Linked DNA regions of Homo sapiens: region 1 is linked to region 2. Evidence: promoter capture Hi-C in 16 types of primary human blood cells and fetal thymus (Javierre and others, 2016). All regions are on one chromosome and are shown on one strand. The core of a region is centred on a gene start or on the middle of the fragment in contact, and the rest is flanking DNA. Distances in the headings are between cores, read along the strand shown.

The links. The method cuts DNA at HindIII sites, captures the fragments that hold promoters and counts their contacts. A CHiCAGO score of 5 or more calls a contact.
Region 1: a fragment that was not itself captured here is called in contact with the fragment with the promoter of OR6C68 in region 2 in 1 of 17 cell types (M2 macrophages); the score reaches 5.6 in M2 macrophages.

The regions. Positions count from the first base shown.
Region 1 is chr12:54,831,811-54,838,859 of GRCh38, forward strand. It overlaps a transcript of MUCL1 not described here. Among named protein-coding and RNA genes, the nearest start is that of MUCL1, 19 kb to the right of the region's middle. The HindIII fragment of the contact is 5,535 bases long and covers 1,147-6,681 here.
Region 2 is chr12:55,487,610-55,494,890 of GRCh38, forward strand. OR6C68 (olfactory receptor family 6 subfamily C member 68) reads left to right here and starts at 4,769. Exons shown (of 1, transcript NM_001005519.2): 1 at 4,769-5,707. The coding sequence starts at 4,769. The coding sequence ends at 5,707. The HindIII fragment of the contact is 4,433 bases long and covers 4,116-7,281 here.

The DNA.
Region 1 (7,049 bases), core at 2,664-5,163, 660 kb before region 2:
TGAAATGGTATATTCATCACTTTTGCAAGCTTGCTACAGAATGCTGCCATGTAACAAAGACATTTCACAATTATCTACCTCCTAATTTTCTCTATAAAAGAAACCTTACTAATGGTTAAACATTACAATTAATATGTGAAAATAATTAGGAAAACAATTCTTCATCAAAAGTTTTCAGGGAAAATAGGATATATCTTTGATAGGAAATATACGAGTATGAAGGATGTGTTTTTGTTAAGGGAAAAAGAGAGTAATTTTATCCTAAAGTTAGATGACTAGTTGTTCCAGAATGAGGAATAAGAAAAATATAGAGCAAAAACTAAAGGATATAGGAAGTTGCAGAAGGCTTGTGGAAAATGAAATTTATGTGTAGTCAAGCTGGCTAAGATTTGAATTCCTTTGTTTACACATTTAAAAATATGAGCCTTAACATCAAAAGTACACTAATGCAAAGCTAGAATATGGCTTTCTTTCTGTTAAAAAGACAAATTTTGGGTGGGGGGATTATTGGTTTGCTCTTAATAAGAGATTGTGAAAGGCTTTTCTTTAACTTTTGCATAATCTGCCTGGGAAACCAATGTTTTGTGTCTTTTCTGAATAATTTCCTCTGTTTTATGTTGTCTTTATCATGTCTTTGATTACTTAAGAGTCTTCACAATATTAAAAGAGCTAAGGGTTTTGTTTACAACTATGTAAGCTTCTGTATTTGCCTTTAAAATCTTTTATTGTCACTTTGGTTAAACGGATAACTGTTGTTTCATGGTGGCCTGTGATCCTACTTACTCGTCTATTTAAACCTTTTGACATTTTTGACAATCTCTAACAATCGGATGCTTTATGAGGTCTTTTTGACCTAAAACTGACTGAGACATCACAGACGGCCCCTGGAAAATACCCAAGAGAATTTTTCTTTCATTTTGCAAAGGAATCTGGTAAAAATAATTTATATTATTTGATATGTTAAGCTGAATGGAAATGTGTCAAATAAGAAGTGATGCTTAACCTTCCCTAGGTTACATTTGTATAGGTAAAATGCTATTTTCAAGAAATCATATAAAATTTCTAGAAATTTTGTATGTCCTGGTATAAAGTGATCAGCTATAATTTGAGTTATTATTTTAAACTTTGTATGTCACAAAATAACCAAGCTTCCTTATTAAATGAATTATCATCAGATCTTTAACCTGGATTTATATTATGTTTTTCTTTTTAAATTCCTGTACCAGTACAGCACTATTCGTTACTGTAACTTTATATTAATTTTTGATATCTAGAAGAGTAAGAGTTGCTCATTTGACTTTCCTTAGAGCTGTCCTGTCCATTCTAGGTCCTTTTTCCTTGGCTTTTTATGTATGTTTTAATAAAGCATATTCTGTTGTGCATGCATTCATATTTACCTACACACACACATCCAACCTTTTGAAATTTTGTTGAGTTTTGCATCGAATATATAGAATTATATGAGGAGAACTGGAATTTTCTAATCTATGCAAATGTTTTATTTCTCAGTTTATTTTTCCTTTTATTTAGTTTCAATAATATTTTCTAGTTTTTTGTATAGATGAGATCCACATATCTTTACAGTTATATACACCTTTCCAATACTTGGTATTTTCAGTTCATAAAATTTCAACCCATCTGATGATGCCTAGTGCTATCTAATTGTTTTAATTTTTTTCCTTATGTCAAACAAATTAGAGCACATTTTCATAAATTTATTGGTCATAAAGATATCCCCTTTTCTGAAGTCTTATTCAAAACTTTTCCCCAATGGTTATATTGGATTATCTTTTTCTAAGGAATTTATACACCATGGAATACTATGCAGCCATAAAAAATGATGAGTTCATGTCCTTTATAGGGACATGGATGAAGCTGGAAACCATCATTCTCAGCAAACTATTGCAAGGACAAAAAACCAAACACCGCATGTTCTCACTCATAGAGGGGAATTGAACAATGAGAACACATGAACACAGGAAGGGGAACATCACACTCTGGGGACTGTTGTGGGGTTGGGGGAGGGGGGAGGGATAGCATTAGGAAATATACCTAATGCTAAATGATGAGTTAATGGGTGCAGCACACCAACATGGCACATGTATACATATGTAACAAACCCGCACATTGTGCACATGTACCCTAAAACTTAAAGTATAATAAAAAAAAGTCTACTTAACAGTCGTTTGTTAATTACATGCATTATAACTATACCCTCTGAATGCGTGGCTTGAATAGTGATTTGGATGTAAGAGCTTTTATATTCATTGTAGTTTAATTCATTAACCTATCTCTTCAGGGTTAGTGCTTTGATTTTGTTCTATATAAGACATATTTGCGTGAACTTCATGAACTTATTTTTCTATATTCTCTTTTAGAAGGTTTACTGTTACACTTATTATTTAGATATATTCTCTACATAATAAACTATTTGGAATTTATTTTAGTGTATTGAGTGAAGTTGAGTATTTTTTGCCTTTTATATGAATCTTGAATTTACCTATCAGCATTTTTAAACTACCTTTTCTTCACTTTATTTTAAAATTCAATCAGTCACTGTATATTTGTGAATTACCTTCTGGTCTCTCTCTTCTTTTCATCGTCTAATTGTAAATCCTCATCACAAGCCATACTCTTTCACTGGTGCAATTTTATTGTATTTTATTTTTAAAATTTATCTTTAAAGTTTTGTATATTTAAGGTAAACAATGTAATGTTTTGATATACACAGTGAAGTTGTTACCACAATCCAACTAATTAGCATAACATTCTCTTTACATAGTTACTATTTTTTGTGGTGAGAATACTTAAAATCCACTCTCTTAGCAAATTTTAAGTATAGAATACAGTATCATTAATCATAATGAACTAACTGTGTATCTCTAGAATTTATTCATCCTACATGATTGAAATTTTATATACTAAAAATAAATATATATATTTTTTATTTCAATAATTTTGGGGGTAAAAGTGGTTTTTGGTTATATGGATGAATTGTAGAGTGGAGAAGTCTGAGATTTTAGTGCACCTGTCACCCGAGCAGTGTACATTGTATCCAATATGTAGGTTTTTATTCCTCACCTTCCTTCCACTCTCCTCCATTCTGAGTTTCCAATATCCATTATGCCACTCTGTATGCCTTTGCATACAGATAGTTTAGCTTCCAGTTATAAGTGAGAACATACGGTATTTTGTTTTCCATTCCTGAGTTACTTCACTTAGAATAATGGCTTCCAGCTCCATCCAAGTTGCTAGTTGCTGCAAAAAACACTATTTCATTCTCTTTTATGGCTGAGTAGTATTCCATGGTGTACATATACCACCTTTTCTTTATTCACTCATTCGTTGATGGGCACTTATATTGGCTCCATATTTTTGCAATGTTGAATTCTGCTATGATAAACATATACACGTATGTGTCTTTTTGATATAATGACTTATTTTCCTTTAGGTAGATAGCCAGTAGTGGGATTGCTGGATCAAACAGTAGATCTACTTTTTGTTCTTTGAGAACTCTCCATACTGTTTTCCATAGAGGTTGTACTAATTTACATTCCCATCAGCAGTGTGTAAGCATCCCCTTTTCACCACCTCTACACCAACATCTACTGTTTTTTTGACTTTTTAATAATGGCCATTTTGGCTGGGTTAAGATGGTGTCTCATTGTAGTTTTAATTTGCATTTCCCTGATGATTAGCAATGTTGAGTATTTTTTTCATATATTTATTGGCCATTTGTATATCTTCTTTTGAGAAGTGTCTATTCGTGTCACGTGTCCACTTTTTGATGGGATTGTTTTTTTTTTTTTTCTGGCTGATTTGTTTGAGCTCCTTGTCTTGTTCCAGGTCTTCGTGGGAATGCTTTCAACTTTTCCCCGTTCAGTATGATGCTGACTGTGGATTTGTCATATATGGCTTTTATTATTTTGAAGTATGTTCTTTCTATGTCTAGTTTGTTGAGGGTTTCTACCATAAAGGGGCAATGGATTTGATTGAATGCTTTTTCTGTGTCCGTTGAGATGATCATGTGATTTTTGTTTTAAATTCTGCCTATTTATAAATTCTGCCACATTTATTAATTTGCATATGTGGAACCATCCCTGCATCCCTGGGATGAAACCCGCTTGATCATGATGAATTATCTTTTTGACGAGCTGTTGGATTTGGGTTGCTATTATTTTGTTGAGGACTTTTGCATCTGTGTTCATCAGGAATATTGGTCTGTAGTTTTCTTTTTTTGTTGTTATGTCCTCTTCATGCTTTGGTATCAGGGCATACTGGTTTCACAGAATGAGTTAGGGAGGATTGCCTCTTTCTCAACCTTTTGGAATAGTTTCAGTAAGATTGCTGTCAATTTTTCTTTGAAGGTCTGGTAGACTTTGGCTGTGAATCTACCTGGCTGTGGGCTTTTTTGTAGTTGTTGCTGGCAACTTTTAAATTACTAATTCAGTCTAATTGCTTGTTTGTTATTGGTTTGTTCAGGATTTCTATTTCTTCCTGATTCAAATTAGGAGGGTTGTATGTTTCTAGAAATTTATTCATTTCCTCTAGATTTTCTAGTTGTGTACATAGAGGTGTTATAGTAATCTTGAATTATCTTTTGTATTTCTGTGTTATTGGTTGTAATGTCTCAATTTTCATGTCTGAGCTTATTTGAATCTTCTCTCTTTTCTTGGTTAATCTAGCTAATGGTTTTCCAATTGTGTTTATCTTGTCAAAGAAACAACTTTTTGTTTCATTGATCTTTTTTGTATTTGTTTCAATTTCATTCAGTTCTGTTCTGATCTTTATTATTTCTTTTCTTCTGCTAGTTTTGGGTTTGGTTTGTCTTTGTTTCTTTAGTTTCTTGCAGTGTGATGTTAGGTTGTCAACTTGTGATCTTTTGAACTTTTTAATGTAGGCATTTAGAATTGTAAACTTTCCTCTTAGCACTGCTTTTGCTATATGCCAGAGGTTTTGATAACTTGTGCAACTATTATCATTCATTTTGAAGAATTTTTGAATTTTCATCTTGATTTCATTGTTAACCTCAAAATCATTCAGGAGCAAATTATTTAATTTCCATGTATTTGTATAGTTTTGAGGGTTCTTTTTGGAGTTTATTTTTAGTTTAATTCCACTGTGGTCTGAGAAAACACTTGATATAATTTCAATTTTTTAAAATATATTGACTTGTTTTATCTCTTATTATATGGTCTATCTTGGAGAATATTTCATGCACTGAGGAGAAGAATGTATATTCTGCAGTTCTTGAGTAGAATGTTCTGTAAATATTTGTCAGGTCAATTTTTTCTAGAGTGCAGTTTAAGTCCAGTGTTTCTTTGTTGACTTTCTGCCTCAATGGTCTATCTAGTGCTGTCAGTAGAGAGTTGAAGTCCCCAACTACTATTGTGCTGCTGTCTATTTCTTTTATTAGGTTTAGTAGTAATTGTTTTATGAATCTAGGAGCTCCAGAGTTAGGTGCAATATATTGAGGATTGTAATGTTTTCTTGTTGGATTGATCCTTTTCCCATTATATAATGACTTTTTTTGGGTTTTTATGTTTTTACTGTTGTTGCTTTAAAACCTGTTTTATCTGATATAAGAATAGCTACTCCTGCTTGCTTTTGGTTTCCATTTGTGTGGAATATCGTTTTCCACCCCTTTACCTCAAGTCTATAAGAATCCTTATGGGCTGGGTGTGGTGGCTCATGCCTGTAATCCCAGTACTTTGGGAGGCCAAGGCAGGCAGACCACAAGGTCAGGAGATTGAGACCATCCTGACTAACATGGAGAAAACCTGTCTCTACTAAAAAAAAATACAAAAAATTAGCCGGGCGTGGTGGTGGGTGCCCGTAGTCCCAGCTACTCGGGAGGCTGAGGCAGGAGAATGGCGTGAACCCAGGAGGCGGAGCTTGCAGTGAGCTGAGATCATGCCACTGCACTCCAGCCTGGGTGACAGAGTGAGACTCCGTCTCCAAAAAAACAAAAACAAAAACAAAAAAAATCAATGCTTATATTTTAGGTGAATCTCTTGAAAACAGAAGATATTTGGTTTGTGATTTTTTAATACGTTCTGCCAATTTGTATCTTTTAAGTGGAGCATTTAGACCATTTACATTCAGTTACATTCATATACATATTTAACATTGAGACATGAAGTAGTAGTTTCAGTCATCATATTGATTGTTACCTTGATACTTTGCTATCTTCATTGCATTATTGTTTTATAGGCTCTGTGAGTTTTATGCTTCAAGTGGTTCTATTCTGGTGCATATCCATCTTTTGTTTCAGGATTGGGAACTCCTTTTAGCATTTCTTGTAGGACTGGTCTGGTAGTGACAAACTCCCTCAGCATTTGCTTGTCTGAAAAAGACTATTTCTCTCCATTTATAAAACTTAGTTTTGCTTGATACAGAATTCTTTGCTAACAGTTATATCATTTAAGGAGGCTAGAGATAGGACCCTAATCCTTTCTGGTTTGTAAGGATTCTGCTGAGAAGTCTGCTGTTAGTTTGATATGTTTTCCTTTATGGGTTATCTGATGCTTTTGTCTCACTGCTCTTAGAATATCTTCCTTCACATTGACTTTAGATGGCCTGATGACTATATGTCTTGGTAATGTCTTTTTGTCATGAATCCCACAGGTGTTCTTTGAGCTTCTTATATTTGTGTGTCTAAATCTTTAGCAAGGCCAGGGAAGCTTTCCTCAATTATTCTCTCAAATAAGTTTTTGAAACTTTTTGCTTTTTCTTCTCCCTCAGGAGCACAAATGATTCTTAGGTTTGGCTGTTTTACATAATCCCATATTTCTTGGAGCTCTTGTTCATTTCTTTTATTTTTTTTCTTTATTTTTTCTGATTGAGTTAATTCAAAAGGCTTGTCTTTGAGTTCCAAAATTCTTCTTGGTCTAGTCTATTGTTAAAACTTTCCATTGCACTTTGTAATTCCCTAAATGTGTCTTTCATTTCCAGAAGTTCTGATTCGTTTTTCTTTAAGATATCTATCTCTTTAGAAAATTTTTCATTATTATCCTGAATTGTTTTTTAAATTTCTTTATGTTGGGTTT
Region 2 (7,281 bases), core at 3,519-6,018:
TGCAAAAATCCTCAATAAAATACGGCAAAATGAATCCAGCAGCACATCAAAAAGCTTATCCACCATGATCAAGTGGGCTTCATCCCTGGGATGCAAGGCTGGTTCAATATATGCAAATCAATAAATGTAATCCAGCATATAAACAGAGCCAAAGACAAAAACCACATGATTATCTCAATAGATGCAGAAAAAGCCTTTGACAAAATTCAACAACCCTTCATGAGAAAAACTCTCAATAAATTAGATATTGATGGGACATATTTCAAAATAATAACAGCTATCTATGACAAACCCACGGCCAATATCATACTGAATGGGCAAAAACTGGAAGCATTCCCTTTGAAAACTGGCACAAGACAGGGATGCCCTCTCTCACCACTCCTATTCAACATAGTGTTGGAAGATCTGGCCAGGGCAATTAGGCAGGAGAAGGAAATAAAGGGTATTCGATTAGGAAAAGAGGAAGTCAAATTGTCCCTGTTTGCAGATGACATGATTGTATATCTAGAAAACCCCATTGTCTCAGCCCAAAATCTCCTTAAGCTGATAAGCAACTTCAGCAAAGTCTCAGGATACAAAATCAATGTACAAAAATCACAAGCATTCTTATACACCAACAACAAACAAACAGAGAGCCAAATCATGAGTGAACTCCCATTCACAATTGCTTCAAAGAGAATAAAATATCTAGGAATCCAACTTACAAGGGATGTGAAGGACCTCTTCAAGGAGAACTACAAACCACTGCTCAAGGAAATAAAAGAGGATACAAACAAATGGAAGAACATTCCATGCTCATGGGTAGGAAGAATCAATATCCTGAAAATGGCCATACTGCCCAAGGTAATTTACAGATTCAATGCCATCCCCATAAAGCTACCAATGACTTTCTTCACAGAATTGGAAAAAACTACTTTAAAGTTCATATGGAACCAAAAAAGAGCCCACATCACCAAGTCAATCCTAAGCCAAAAGAACAAAGCTGGAGGCATCACACTACCTGACTTCAAACTATACTACAAGGCTACAGTAACCAAAACAGCATGGTACTGGTACCAAAACAGAGATATAGATCAATGGAACAGAACAGAGCCCTCAGAAATAACGCCGCATATCTACAACTATCTGATCTTTGACAAACCTGAGAAAAACAAGCAATGGGGAAAGGATTCCCTATTTAATAAATGGTGCTGGGAAAACTGGCTAGCCATATGGAGAAAGCTGAAACCGGATCCCTTCCTTACACCTTATACAAAAATCAATTCAAGATGGATTAAAGATTTAAACGTTAGACCTAAAACCATAAAAACCCTGGAAGAAAACCTAGGCATTACCATTCAGGACATAGGCATGGGCAAGGACTTCATGTCCAAAACACCAAAAGCAATGGTAACAAAAGCCAAAATTGACAAATGGGATCTAATTAAACTAAAGAGCTTCTGCACAGCAAAAGAAACTACCATCAGAGTGAACAGGCAACCTACAAAATGGGAGAAAATTTTCGCAACCTACTCATCTGACAAAGGGCTAATATCCAGAATCTACAATGAACTCCAACAAATTTACAAGAACAAAACAAACAACCCCATCAAAAAGTGGGCGAAGGACATGAACAGACACTTCTCAAAGAAGACATTTATGCAGCCAAAAAACACACGAAAAAATGCTCATCACTGGCCATCAGAGAAATGCAAATCAAAACCACAATGAGATACCATCTCACACCAGTTAGAATGGCAGTCATTAAAAAGTCAGGAAACAACAGGTGCTGGAGAGGATGTGGAGAAATAGGAACACTTTTACACTGTTGGTGGGACTGTAAACTAGTTCAACCATTGTGGAAGTCAGTGTGGCGATTCCTCAGGGATCTAGAATTAGAAATACCATTTGAGCCAGCCATCCCATTACTGGGTATATACCCAAAGGACTATAAATCATGCTGCTATAAAGACACATGCACACGTATGTTTATTGTGGCATTATTCACAATAGCAAAGACTTGGAACCAACCCAAATGTCCAACAATGATAGACTGGATTAAGAAAATGTGGCACATATACACCATGGAATACTATGCAGCCATAAAAAATGATGAGTTCATGTCCTTTGTAGGGACATGGATGAAATTGGAAATCATCATTCTCAGTAAACTATCGCAAGAACAAAAAACCAAACACCGCATATTCTCACTCATAGGTGGGAATTGAACAGTGAGATCACATGGACACAGGAAGGGGAATATCACACTCTGGGGACTGCAGTGGGGTCGGGGGAGGGGGGAGGGATAGCATTGGGAGATATACGTAATGCTAGATGACGAGTTAGTGGGTGCAGCGCACCAGCATGGCACATGTATACATATGTAACTAACCTGCACAATGTGCACATGTACCCTAAAACTTAAAGTATAATAAAAAATAAAATAAAATAAAAAATAATAAATAAATAAATAAATATGCAAAGCAGTATTGAGTCAATATGAATATGATGATATTGTTAAATATTTAATATTTATGCAAGACTGGATTCAGGGAAAGCAAAATATCAAAAATGAAAGATAGTCTTAAGACCCAAACAAAGCTGAATCCAATACCAAGAGAACTACTGGATGGTAAATTGAAATAGTGAAAAAGAAGAAAACAGGACAGAGGTTCTAAGTGTGAGTTACAGAGTCATCTTCTGATTATAATGTTCTCTCAAAAGGGTATTAGCTTCCTAGCAAGCTTTATCTACCCTGAGCCTAGATTAAGATGCATGCCCTGTGATGGTGTTCCTCTACCATGGAGATTTTGCTCAGTATATTGGGTGTATACTAGCAGAAGACAGTGCTTACTTGATTAGACAAAAAAGGGAAAAACACTGATTGTTTAAAGCTCTTGTAGTAGATGCATTAGGGCTTTTTGAGGGAAATATTCTAAAACCATAAGAAAATGCCTTATTTTATATCTCTCTTGCATTTAATAAAGGTAAGAAAATTTGAAGCTCTTAAGACATTACTTACAAATTAGAAACCTGTGAATATCTAACAATATGATTGAGAATACACAACAGCAACTTCTACCTAGCTATTGAACTTAGCCCAGAATAACAGAGTCCCTAGTCTTCAGTCTTATTATTTCACTGAAAGAAATATTGAGGAAACATTGAGGGATCAATATACTAAAAGAAATAAACAATAAGATGGGGAAAATTAGCCAGTTGCACTTTGGCAAAGTTTAATCTCCATTAGCCCTAATATTACACCTGAATCAAGGAGTAAGTAATTGTATAGAGAATGGCACACATTTAGTTTTTGCTCTTGATAGCCCTGTTTACACCAGTTGTATCAACGTAATTATTAACTGCCCCCGCTGTGCTTCTCAAGTATCTTGGTTTAGATAATAAACTATGTAGTAACCCCAGCTTTGTTTCAATTACCAATAGACAGAATATTATCTTCATGAAATTAAAACATTCAGGTAAAGTGTTCACCACAAACACAGCGCAGTGATTAAAGAACTGGGACTCTGGGGTTTCTCTAGCCACTTACTATCCTGAAACAATGGCCACATACTTTACCTCTTTGTCGATCAGCTTTTTCATTTTTTAAGTGGAGATAATATACCTCCCTACTTCACAGGTTGTCCTAAGGATTATATTAATTATATATGTAATATACTTAAAAGAGAAGCATAGCAAGAGATTTGCCTGAAGCATAGCAAGAGATTTGTGTTTGTCATATTATGATTATACTGGGTTAAGTCACAGGAAGTTAACTGATTAAGCACTTTTAAAAATCTGGTGAGGTGAAAAATAAGAGAGTAACAGATTGAGAAACGAATGCGTACTGTGGAAATAGAGTCAAAGAATGTAGATCTGAAGGAAATGAAAAAGGAGAGAATATTGTGTCATGGCGAGGATATTCAGCAATTTTTGTCTTGACTTTTATCCATGTTGTATAACTTGTTCTAATCTGAGTAGCTAACTGAACGCAGGAAGACATAGTTTTTATATTTTTCAGCAGTTCATTTATTATAATCAAAACTGTCTTGCACTGTGATAAAAGGGCACTGAAAAATAATCATATTATACTACACAGCACTATCCAGGGAGTAGATATAAGATTTAGATAATGAAGCTTAGAAGAGATATGTAAAATTATAAACGTGGATGCCTTAGGGTCAAAAGATGGTTTTCTCTTAAAATGAATAACCAACAATTAAAAAGCAGTCAAAAAGCAAATAAATATACATCTTAGAGGGAATTGAAATGTTTTGTTTGGAACCTGATGTATGTTTTATTTTAGGGTTTTACAATTCCCAAATTTTAAAACAGAGATGAAACTAAAGCGAATTATTTTAATGTAGCTTATGAGTTGCAGAAAAACATTTGGCAGCATAAAAAACAGTCATATTTCAAAAAATAATGCAATCCAATAAAAAGGCACAACTCAGAATGAGTTAAAATGTTTAATACACTATAAATTAATTACTATAGAAGATTAATAAAGAAAAGTTATTCTATAGTTCGTTGACTAAAATTTATAAAATAATCTTATTTGGCCATTTTGTATAAATAGATCAAGGGAGCTCAACGTACTAAAACATGTACATATATGTTATTTATATTCTCACTATAAACTTCTGCAGATCAACAAGTAAAACCTATGATGTTGGATAAATGAAACATGCATGAGAGTGTTCATCATTAGCTGCTTTTTTTATTGAATGCTGCAGTTCAAATTTCTCTGACATTTACATGTAGTTTTGGAAAAATGCAGAAGTCAGTAATGAGAAAACACACAGCAATAACAACATTCATCCTTCTGGGACTGACAGAAGATCCTCAGCTGCAGGTTCTGCTTTTCATGTTTCTATTTATCACCTACATGTTGAGTGTAACAGGGAAACTGACCATTATCGCCCTCACCATGTTGGATCCCCACCTGAAAACACCCATGTATTTTTTTCTCCAAAATTTATCTTTCTTAGAAATCTCATTTACAGCTACCTGTGTTCCAAGATTCTTATACAGTATCTCAACTGGGAACAAAATAATAACGTATAATGCATGTGTCATTCAGCTATTTTTTGCAGACCTCTTTGGGGTAACTGAATTTTTTCTTTTGGCTACCATGTCATATGATCGCTATGTGGCCATCTGCAAACCCTTGCATTATATGGCAATCATGAGCAACAAAGTGTGCAAAACAATGGTTATTTGTTGTTGGATGGCAGCACTTATGATTATCCTCCCACCACTTAGCTTAGGTTTTCATCTAGAATTCTGTGACTCTAATGTCATCAATCATTTTGGCTGTGATGCATTGCCTATTCTGAAAATACCATGCTCAGACACATCATTAATTGAGCAGATGGTTGTAGCCTCTGCTGTATTAACCTTTATTATCACTCTTGTATGTGTAGTTCTGTCCTACACATATATCATAAGAACAATTCTAAAATTCCCTTCTGTTCAACAAAAGAAAAAAGCCTTTTCTACCTGTTCTTCACATATTACTGTGGTTTCCATCACTTATGGCAGCTGCATCTTCATCTATATCAAGCCATCTGCAAAAGAAGAGGTAAACATTAATAAAGGTGTGTCAGTGCTTATTTCATCCATATCACCTATGTTGAATTCTTTCATATATACTCTTAGGAATGAGCAAGTTAAACAAGCCTTTCATGACTCACTCAAAAAAATTGCATTTCGTTTAAAAAAGTAAAGTGTACCTAAGTTGATAAATCAATATAAAAGATCTGCTTCATATTTTTCATAAAGCCAATAACCAACTTTGTAATTTCTTAGTCTATAGAGCAATCAAGTTGACTGCATAGCCATTTAATCATTAATTTTTTATTAATTTACGTACTGAGAAATTAATTATTGAATAATATTCTATGATAGACAAAATATATCACTTTTAATCCTTAACCAGATTAAACCACTCTTTTTTCCTTCTTTCCAGTTGATTTTCTCTGATAATTTTAAAATATGGGTGTGAAGTTATTTTTTTCCCAACTTCTATGAGTAGTCATTCTTTTTTTTTTTTTTTTTTTCTCCCCTGGAGATAGATTCCCACTCTGTTGTCCAGGCTGGAGTGCGATGGTGCCATCTTGGCTCACTGCAACCTCCAACTTCCAGGTTCAAGCAATTCTCATGATTCAGCCTCCCAAGTAACTGGAACTAAGAGCATGCGCCACCACGCCCACCTAATTTTTGTATTTTTAGTATAGACAGGGTTGCACCATGTTGGCCAGGCTAATCTCAAACTCCTGGTCTCAAGTGATCCACCCACCTCGGCCTCCCAAAGGTGCTGGGATTACAGGCGTGAGCCACTGCACCTGGTCTATGAGAATTCACTCTTAATCAAGATACAAATTCCTTGCCTCACTGAAAAAAAGTCAGATTTAAGTAACAAACTTTAAAATATCTACAGCAAAAAGAGAAAATTTCATGAAAAATATTAAAGAGAAAACATAAGTAAAAGAATAGCTTTATGGTACAGTTAACATGAAAGGCTTAATATAATAAATATGTAGGAAGTTTCTATGAATCAAAAAAGGCAACAAATTTACTATAAATACCAAGAAAATATTAGATATTTATTTTACTAAAAAATAAAATTACCTATAGCAATAGGAAGGGATGCACAACTTCATTATTAGCCACAGATTTAAACATTAAAGTCATGATATACATTTCACCCATCATATTTGCACAAACTAAATTTTTCGTATGTTCAATATTAGCCAGTATGCTAACACTTAAAGTAAAACATACACCTCAATGCACAATTTACTTGAAAACATTGGAATTTATATTTACTAACAGTACATATAAGATTTCATCTAGAAATCAACATCTAGGGATTTATGCCAGAATCTACTTGCCAATTATTATACTCATTGCAGTCATTTTGTAATAGTAAAAGATTGAAAATAACCAAATGAACATCACTTGGCAATGTGTAAGTCAATTAGGGAATTACAGCATAAGATGTAGTACTTATCAAATGATATAGAACTTGATCTTATAATGGAAGGATATTAAAATTTTTAAAAACTGGCTGGGCGCGGTGGCTCACGCCTATAATCCCAGCACTTTGGGAGGCCGAGGCGGGCCGATCACGAGGTCAGGAGATCAAGACCATCCTGGCTAACACGGTGAAACCCCGTCTCTACTAAAAATACAAAAAATTAGCTGGGCGAGGTGGTGGGCACCTGTAGTCCCAGCTACTAGGGAGGCTGAGGCAGGAGAATGGCATGAACCCAGGAGGCAGAGCTTGCAGTGAGCTGA